Regions from separate parts of the Homo sapiens genome. Here regions 1 and 3 are each linked to region 2. The links are contacts of gene promoters, found by promoter capture Hi-C in blood cells and fetal thymus (Javierre and others, 2016). All regions are on one chromosome and are shown on one strand. Each heading gives the region's core, a stretch centred on a gene start or on the middle of the fragment in contact. The rest is flanking DNA. Distances are from core to core; before and after follow the strand shown. Region 1 overlaps RPRD1A (regulation of nuclear pre-mRNA domain containing 1A). Region 2 holds the start of ZSCAN30 (zinc finger and SCAN domain containing 30). Region 3 has its middle 14 kb from the start of MIR3929.

What was found. Contacts are between HindIII fragments. The CHiCAGO score rates a contact against its expected background, and 5 or more counts as called.
Region 1: a fragment that was not itself captured here is called in contact with the fragment with the promoter of ZSCAN30 in region 2 in 1 of 17 cell types (total CD4 T cells); the score reaches 5.8 in total CD4 T cells.
Region 3: a fragment that was not itself captured here is called in contact with the fragment with the promoter of ZSCAN30 in region 2 in 1 of 17 cell types (naive CD4 T cells); the score reaches 5.4 in naive CD4 T cells.

The regions. Positions count from the first base shown.
Region 1 is chr18:36,030,452-36,033,563 of GRCh38, reverse strand. It overlaps RPRD1A (regulation of nuclear pre-mRNA domain containing 1A), which reads left to right. Exons shown (of 7, transcript NM_018170.5): 3 at 2,467-2,573; 4 at 2,659-2,756. Among named protein-coding and RNA genes, the nearest start is that of RPRD1A, 36 kb to the left of the region's middle. The HindIII fragment of the contact is 3,070 bases long and covers 1-2,815 here.
Region 2 is chr18:35,288,924-35,291,765 of GRCh38, reverse strand. It overlaps ZSCAN30 (zinc finger and SCAN domain containing 30), which reads left to right and starts at 1,537. Exons shown (of 4, transcript NM_001112734.4): 1 at 1,537-1,682. It also overlaps the pseudogene ZNF271P. RefSeq lists an enhancer at 1,261-1,420. The HindIII fragment of the contact is 2,453 bases long and covers 641-2,842 here.
Region 3 is chr18:35,946,384-35,949,171 of GRCh38, reverse strand. No RefSeq gene overlaps it. Among named protein-coding and RNA genes, the nearest start is that of MIR3929, 14 kb to the right of the region's middle. The HindIII fragment of the contact is 833 bases long and covers 995-1,827 here.

The sequences.
Region 1 (3,112 bases), core at 31-2,530, 740 kb before region 2:
GCATTTATAAATGTATTAAATGCCTTCTCTGAAGGAAAAATATTTTTTGAACTGTTGCTAAGGTGGGCCTTTGGAGTACTTGAATTACAGCTTTCCTTTAAGAGACCAGAACCAACTGCTATATTGGAATGAACTTCATTAAAAATGAATGAAGGTATTGAAGTAAAAATTTGTGTGTTTATAAAGCTATCAGTCTTGTAACAAATATTTCCATATACACTTAGTACTGTTTCTATTCTTTTTTTTTTTTTTTTTTTTTTTTTTGAGACAGAGTCTCACTCTCACCCAGGCTGGAGTACAGTGGTGCGATCTTGGCTCACTGCAACCTCTGCCGCTTGGGTTCAAGCGATTCTCCTACTTCAGCCTCGCAAGTAGCTGGAATTACAGGTGCCTGCCACCATGCCTGGCTAATTTTTGTGTTTTTAGTAGAGACAAGGTTTCACCATCTTGGCCAGGCTGGTCTTGAACTCCTGACCTCGTGATCCACCTGCCTCGGCCTCCCAAAGTGCTGGGATTACAAACGTGAGCCACCATGTCTGGCCTGTTTCCATTCTTTACTTGCCCTCTGGGTAATTTTGTACATCGCATGTATTTGGTTATTCTCCACACCGTAATGACTTACAGTTTTATGCTCCAGTCCAGATTTTTTTTTGTTCCAAACCTGTGTGCCCAATTGCCTTTTGACATTTTTACTTGTATGCGTCTCAAACATTTCAGACTCACTGTGTCTGATACAGAACTCATTATGTCCTTGCTTCCCACCGTACTTGTCCCTCCTGTAGGTTTTATACTCTGTGAATGGCAACTCGATCTATCCAGGTGCCTATGCAAGAAATTATGTTACCTTTAAACTCTTCTTTCTCCTTCAGTCCCCATATCTCACATAGTACACATTGACTCGGTTCTTTGGATTTCTTTCCCTTTTAGTTACCATAATGTATTTTCAGTATAATTTTAATGCCCTTTAGTATTGTTTAATTTCTTTAGAAAACTCGACAGAGTTGCAGAGCTGGTCATAATACTTCCTTGCCTTTGAGTGGTTCCCATTTGTTTTAGAGATGAAGTCTAAAGTCCTGAGCAAGACTTAAGGTGTTCCTTCGTGGCACTGCCTATCTCCCCAGACCTCTGTCTCGCATTTATTCCACACAGTCTATAGTCTACAGTTTAAGCTAAATTAACCTTTTTTAGTTCTTTCCGCCTTAAGTCTTCTATATATGTTGCCCCTCCCTAGAATTCAGTAAAATATTTATTGGCTGCATAAATATTTATTATATGCAAAACCCTGAGTAGTAGTGACCAAGACAGTTTTGTTCTACTGGAGCCTACATTTCATTGGATGACAAAGTTAATAAGTAGATAGACAAGTGAATGCATAATGTCAGATGACAAATGCTAGCAAGAAATACAAAGCAGGGAAGGAACTAGATAGTATGAGGGCGCTCAGTTATGTGATGAGATAAAGAACAACTATTTGGGGAAGGTGGCATTTGAACAAAGACTAAAGGAAGGGGTGAAATGAGCCATTTGACTAGGCAGAAAGGATTCTAGGTAGAGAGAATATGTGGCCGAAAAAATGAGATAGCTTATATGCTGGACATGTTTGAGGACCTTAGCAAGGAGATTTGTATGGTACTAGGTATTAGGGAGTGTGTACTGAGGGACTGCCAGAAAGCAGAGCATGTGGGCCTTATGGCCCAGAGTAAGGATTTTGGTTTTATTCTTGATGTGATTGGTAGCTCTTGGAGGATCAAGAGCTGTATAATCTGATTTACATTATTAGGATGCTTTGTACAGAATAGAGTAAAAGAGTAGAGGCTGGGAGAGCGTGAGAAGACTTTACAAAATTCTAAGCAAGAGATAGTAGTGTTTCTGTCTACAGTGATAGCAATGAAGGAGGTAGGAAACAGTTGGGAGTAGTCTGTTTTTCATTTCCCCATATGTCTAGTCTTAAGATCTCAAATTAAATATCATTTCCTTAAATACTCTTCCGGATATCTCTTAAACAGGGCCAGGTCTGTCTTAAGCACTTTGTTCTCTTTTGTGATACTTATAAATAACAACTGCCATAAGCTGCATTTGCATCTCCATGTCAAAGATAGTAACTGGATCAATAAGTATTTGTTGAATAAATTTAAAAAAATAACCTATGAGAAATCTTCCTTAGCCCCATGTCCAGGCCCCATTAGGATAGGAAATCCCTAGCAGCCAGTACTAAAACTTTTACAGTTTAAACTTTTTTTGGTTGTGTAATAATATGTTTATAAAATGTTTACTAGAAGCAAGCAGTGTGTCTAGATCACTTCACTTTTGAGCTGCTGGCCACATAGTGATGCTAAGTAGACATTTGGACAGTTTTTTCCAGGGAATGAATGTCTGATTATATTTAAAGTTACCGTTAACCTTTTCAATAACACTATGCATTGTTACTGTTAACATTTTTCTTTTTTTCTTTTTTTTTTTTTTTAGTGAAACTGATGAAAGTTGTAAGAAGCACCTTGGAAGAGTGTTATCTATTTGGGAAGAAAGGTCTGTTTATGAAAATGATGTATTAGAACAACTTAAACAAGCTCTGTGTAAGTGTAGAATCCTGATCTCTTACCTTGATCTCTTCATTAAAATGTATTCTTTCATTAATACTTAAATGTTCTTTCATTTCAGATGGTGATAAGAAGCCTAGGAAGCGAACTTATGAACAGATAAAGGTGGATGAAAATGAAAACTGTTCCTCTCTGGGATCTCCAAGTGAACCACCACAGGTAGAAATTTTACCCTGTTAAAAGAGTTACAAACTTTTACTTCATGTTGCCACCAAGCTTTATTAATTTCGTTTCACTTCTGTAAATTGATTTCTATTATACTTTTAGGTACAAGAAAGAAGCCACATGAATATCTCTTCCTCATTAACAAATTGCTTATGTTAAATGTAGTATGTTGTATATTGTATATTTTGCATAGAAATCATGTTTTGTATAGAAAGAGGATTTTTAATTGCCAAATATGGTTAGATGTGAGATGTTAGCTATTTAAACTTTTTAAAATAAAACAAAACATGCCTATTTTGTTATGTGATTTTTTTTTTTTGAGACGGAGTTTCACTCTGTCCCCAGGGCTG
Region 2 (2,842 bases), core at 288-2,787:
CAGAATCATAAGAAATAATGTGGTTTAAGAAGTCTGATGTTTTAGGTCACTAAATTTTGGGGTTCTTTATTCTGGAGTAATACATAGATACAAATCTCAAAATAACTTCAAGGTATGAAGTACTATGCACTTGAAAAGTGAGGAAACAGAATCGTAAAATATATGAGTAACTTACTGGAGCCAGTTAAGTGACAAAACTACTGTTTGAATCTAGGTTGTCAGACTCCAGAACTTTTAACTATGCCCCTACAGTAGATAAGAAAAATGACCAAAACTGACAGATTAGCAATGAGGTCATTATACAGGGAAAAATGAATGACTTTGGGGTCTTAAAAAAGTGGAGAGAGCTGCATGAGAATTTGATCGCCAGATTTTGAAATAAAGTCATGTGACTATGCTTGGTACACTAAAGAGGTAATACTGCCTAACAGAGTTAAGGGGGATCATTTGAAGACACTAGCATAGAGTGACACCCCCTCATCCTCCCCACCCCGCCAAAGCCACTAAGAAAGATATAATACCCTGCCTCTCACCTGACAGAAGGTGGTGTTCCTGAGATTCATAATTGAACTGGATCTCCATGGGCTGCAACTGGACACCTCAGTGTGCAAGTGGAGAATTACCATTTCCTCTGTAAGCTTTTCTTGTCCACATAAAGGTCTGGGACCTGGAGGCAACTGGGCACCACTGGGCTTGGAAGGGAATCATTGTGCTGACTACAGATGTAATCTCTGAGACTAGACCACCAGAAAAATCCTCAAGATATAAAAGAAGGAGAAAACAAAAAATCTCATTTGACTTCCAGTTGCTTTTCTCTCAGAATGTATTAGGCTTCCTCCCCATCATCCAAGAGCCAGGGATTAACCCACTTAAGACACACATTCCCCATTCCAAGTCTAGAGATGTTCAAACAAAATTAGGGGTTAATGCTACCAAAAAAAGGTATAACTGGAAAGATAACGCAGAGAGGGGAATTTTACAGTGAATTCTAGTGGTTAACACTATGTTATTCGCTGCCCTTCCTATCCAAAAATGACACTACTGATCATTTTTCTTCCTTTTGCTTTTACAACATTCACAAATTCAGGTGGCTCTTTCCCAGTACGGTAGGCTGATTCGTATGGATGCACCACGGTTGGTGACTCCCCCCACCCCACAGAGTTTCTGGCGTTCATTCGGTTGAACCCAAGGCCAGCAAGGGCTGACTGGGAACAAACCGAACACTAGGCCGTGAACCAATCGTCTCTCCGTGCCCGGGAGCGACCCCGGGGGCCTTCACTCTCCAAGGACTCGAGAAACCATGCACAGTTTCCTGCTCGTTAGGCAAGATCACCCGGAACTCCTCTGCTATCCGCGAGCCGACATCACCCTTACCTCGACTTGGTCACCGGACCGCTGTGAAGCCTCACACCCGGCGAACCTGCCATCGCCCTGTCCGCTCTAGGAATCTGGGAGGAGTGCTCAGCTCTATGGCGCTTCACCGCGCAGGCGCAGGGCGGGGGTGGGGCACCGGGTGACGGAGGGCTGCCGAGAATTAACCCCCGAACCGCCGCGAGCTGTCCCTAGCAGTGCCTTAGCCAGGGACCTGCTTGGCCAGCGACAGATCCTTTGCTGCTCTGTCTGCCGGTTCTTGAGGTGAATGTCGGAATCCATTATCTTTCGGGAAAGCTCTCTGGGGCAGGGTAGGTTTTCTTACTACATACAAGTTCTTAATTAGTTATCGTTTTTTAAATAACCACCCCTCCCCCTATCGCTTATCTGATTCGTAGGTATGCTTTAATTCTAACTTTCTTCCTGTCCTCTCTGGTTTTTCACACCCCCAGAAGAGTAGCGCGCATCAGAATCACCTGGAGGCCTTGTTAAAATACTGACTTCTGCCCCACAACTCCGGAGTTGCTGATTTAGTAGTGGGGGAGGGGGCGGTGGCAGCCCAGGTTCTCAGGTGATCCTGAAGCTGTTGGTCCTGGGACCACATTTTGAGAACCACTGCCCAAGAAATAAGTGATGCTCAGTAATTAATCCCTGAATTAACGGAAAGTTGGATTTTTATCTACTTTGCAATCTAGAAAGGGTACGAGGTCTATTTAAGGTTTGCTTGCTAGAACAATTCTCACTGATCAGGGTGAGAAGGACCCGAAATGGAGGGTGCGGGGTAATCAGGGTAGGAAAGGATATTGCTGTGTTCATGGAAATATCTTGGGAAATGAGGAGTTGGGACCTCATTTCTGTTGAGACCAATGAGACGTGTGACTTGGTTTAAGCTGTCCGGTGGGGAAAGGAAGAGGTTTGAGAAAATGGTGGGTGGCTAAGTGGTAGTTGAGGTGGAGGAAGAGGGCTTCCTGTCCCAGCCCAAGTCCCTGTTGGGATATATGAAATTTAGGGATGTATGACTAAGCCCTTAATATAACCGTAAGAGGAAAGAGATGTGGGAACTTGAGTCCAACCCTCCCAAGTAGGGAGTGCAGATAGTTTTAAAAAAACAGCTTTCTTTTTGGCCAGGCGCAGCTTAGGCCTGTAATCCTAAAACTTTGGGAGGTTGAGGCAGGTGGATCACCTGAGATCAGGAGTTGGAGACCAGCCTGGCCAACAAGGTGAAACCCTGTCTCTACTACAAATACAAAAATTAGCTGGGCATGGTGGTGTGCGCCTTTAATCCCAGCTACTTGGGAGGCCGAGTCAGGAGAATCGCGTGAACCCATGAACCCAGGAGGCGGAGGTTGCAGTGAGCCGAGATTGCGCCACTGCACTCCAGCCTGGGTGACAAAGCGAGACTTTGTCTCAAAACAAAACAAAACAAAACAAAACAAAACAGCTTTATTGAGGTATAACTGACATAAACAGC
Region 3 (2,788 bases), core at 162-2,661, 660 kb before region 2:
CCGCCTCCCGGGTTCAAGCAGTAAATTATTTACTTTTAGTCTCAATAATACTGTGTGTATCAGTAATAATCTAATTACATTTATTTCAAGAAGGTGTCCATTTGTTTTAGACAGGTAATTACTAGTTTAAAATAGATGGGAATATAAAACATTCCGATAATTTGAAATATAGGCTAAAGTCAAGTAAAACATTTGCAAAACCATACATGAAAATGGTAAAATAAGAGCAGACCAAGTTCAGCTAGTTTTCAAAAAAATATAGAATGCCACTCTTTCCCCTGTTCTTGTACTTGAGGGTTGAGGAGCTGTTTGTTGTTGCAGGCTCACACCTGTGTGTCCGAGTCAGGCCTGCAAAACCTGTGTGTCCCACTTCTCAATTTACCCAGTTCTGGGGTCCTTCTCTGCACACCTGTGAAAAGACATCTTATTCTTGTGGTTTAAAACTTGCCGGCCGGGCGCGGTGGCTTATGCCTGTAATCCCAGCGCTTTGGGAGCCCGAGGCGGGTGGATCACGAGGTCAAGAGATTGAGACCATCCTGGCCAACATGGTGAAACCCCGTCTCTACTAAAAATACAAAAATTAACTGGGCGTGGTGGCACATACCTGTAATCCCATCTACTTGGGAGGCTGAGGTAGGAGAATCACTTGAACCCGGGAGGCAGAGGTTGCAGTGAGTCGAGATCGTGCAGTTGCACTCCAGCCTGGGTGACAAGAGCCAAACTCCGTCTCAAAAAAAACCCAACCAACCAGCCAAACAAACAAAAACTTGCCTATACTGCTTGGTGTTTTAAAAAATTTGGAAGGGGGAGGAAAAGACAGGTTATTCTTCCATGAATCAGACACAGCAACTGAACCTCAATTGTTGGGGAGGGATTGATTGCTGAATGAAAAAACTAGGTGGGAGGCAGGAGGGGGTGGATATGATGACCTCATTTGAACTTTGCATGCTATTTCTTCTTAAACGGTGAGGAGTTTAGAAAAAGTACTCAAGCTTAGTTTTGGCGGAAAGGCATTAATAGTATTTTCTCAAGCAGTGTTTGTACAGAATTATTAAGGAGCCCCCTAACATTTTCTCATAAGCCCCCAGGAACGGATTCCTTGTACCTCAGAGGCAAGGTACTTGCCAATAAGCCTTTAGCTTGAGGCTTGCTGTAATATATTTTATAAGACTGTAATGGAACTTAGCAATTTAATCAGAGTATGTGCTTCTCGTTATATTCTTAAAAAATACAACGCATCAGCAAATGTTGCATTATGGGCTATGAAATTCCTTCTGTTAGTTGTTCACATTTTAGCCTGTGCCCACTGTGTTTTGTATGATGGACAAACCAAATAATCATTATGTAAGTAAGGTAGAGCTTTATATTTTTTCCAATGTGTAAACACTCTGTAAATAGGCAGTCCTTGGTGGGTGTGGCAGCTCCCCTAGCTCATCAGGAACCTGGACTCCTCTCTTTCTTCTCTGCTATCCTCAGTGTGTAGTTCTCATCTTTCAGGCTGCCTGGTGGTTGCAAGATGACTGCTGAAGTTCTAGTCATGACACTCATGTTCTAGGCAGGAAGTAGGAAGAAAGGGAGAAGGTAGCTGAATACAATTTAACAACTTCCATTTAAATTTTGTGGTAGAATGTCTGCAAAGATGGCTGCCAATAATTTTTGTAGGCTTAAGTCATTTTTTCCTGTCAAGAGGTATAGTCTGTTTCTCTTCTCCTTTAGTCAGGGCTGGCCCTATGACTTGCTTTGACCAATAGAATGTATTGGAAGGCCTTGCTAGGCTTTGCTGCTTCTGTTTACCCTCTTGGGATCCAGCTGCCATGTAAAGAAGCTTAGACTAGAATATATATATATATATATCTGGAATACAATGGTGTGAACACAGCTTACTGCAGCCTCAACCTCCCAGGCTCAGGTGATCCTCCCACCTCAGCTTCGATAGTAGCTGGGACTACAGGTGCACTTTACCATACTCAGCTAATTTTTTGTAGAGACAGGGTTTCGCCATTTTGCCCAGGTTGGTCTTGAACTCCTTGGCTCAAGTGATCCACCCACCTCGGCCTCCCAAAGTGCTGGGATTACAGGTGTGAGCCACCACAGCTGGCCCAGAGTAAACTATTGAATAATGAACAACTATGTGAAGAGAGGCCTAGCCAGTCCCCAGCTATTCCAAGTACCCCAGTTGAGGCATAAGTCACGTGTATGAAGCCATCTTGAGTGTACCAGTCCCAGTCAAACTCCACTTGATACCATGTGGGATGCAAGAACCACCCAGTTGAGCCCTGTCAACTTATAGAAATGATCAGAAATAGTAAATCATTGCTGAATTGTGCCGAAACACAATTAATTGGCTCTCCGCCTCCAAATACCAGATGGTCAAGAAGTGAAGTTCATTAATTGGGCTCTTTGCCATACTAGACATGTTATGAGTTTTTTACTACAGAGGAAGGGGATGGCTGTCTGGGATGGGGAGGAGTGATAACAGTTGGCCACAGTCACTAATCACAAGATGGCATCTTGGGACAGAAAAGGCATCTCTGGGACCCCAGAAGCAGGGTCCTGTGGGATTGTTACTCTCATGCTTTGGCATTAATGGGACTGGGCCACCCACAGAGGCTGTGCTTTTGTGTCCTGCCTCTGCCCTTCCTCTGCTCTGAAGCTTGCTGCCTCACAGTTTCTGTGCCTGGGTGACCTCAGGCCCCACTCTGTGCACACTGTGAGCTCCCAGCTCCTGGCTGCTGCCAGGTAGCCTAACTCCTGTTCTCAGAGAGGAAGTCGAATTGTATCGCTCCAA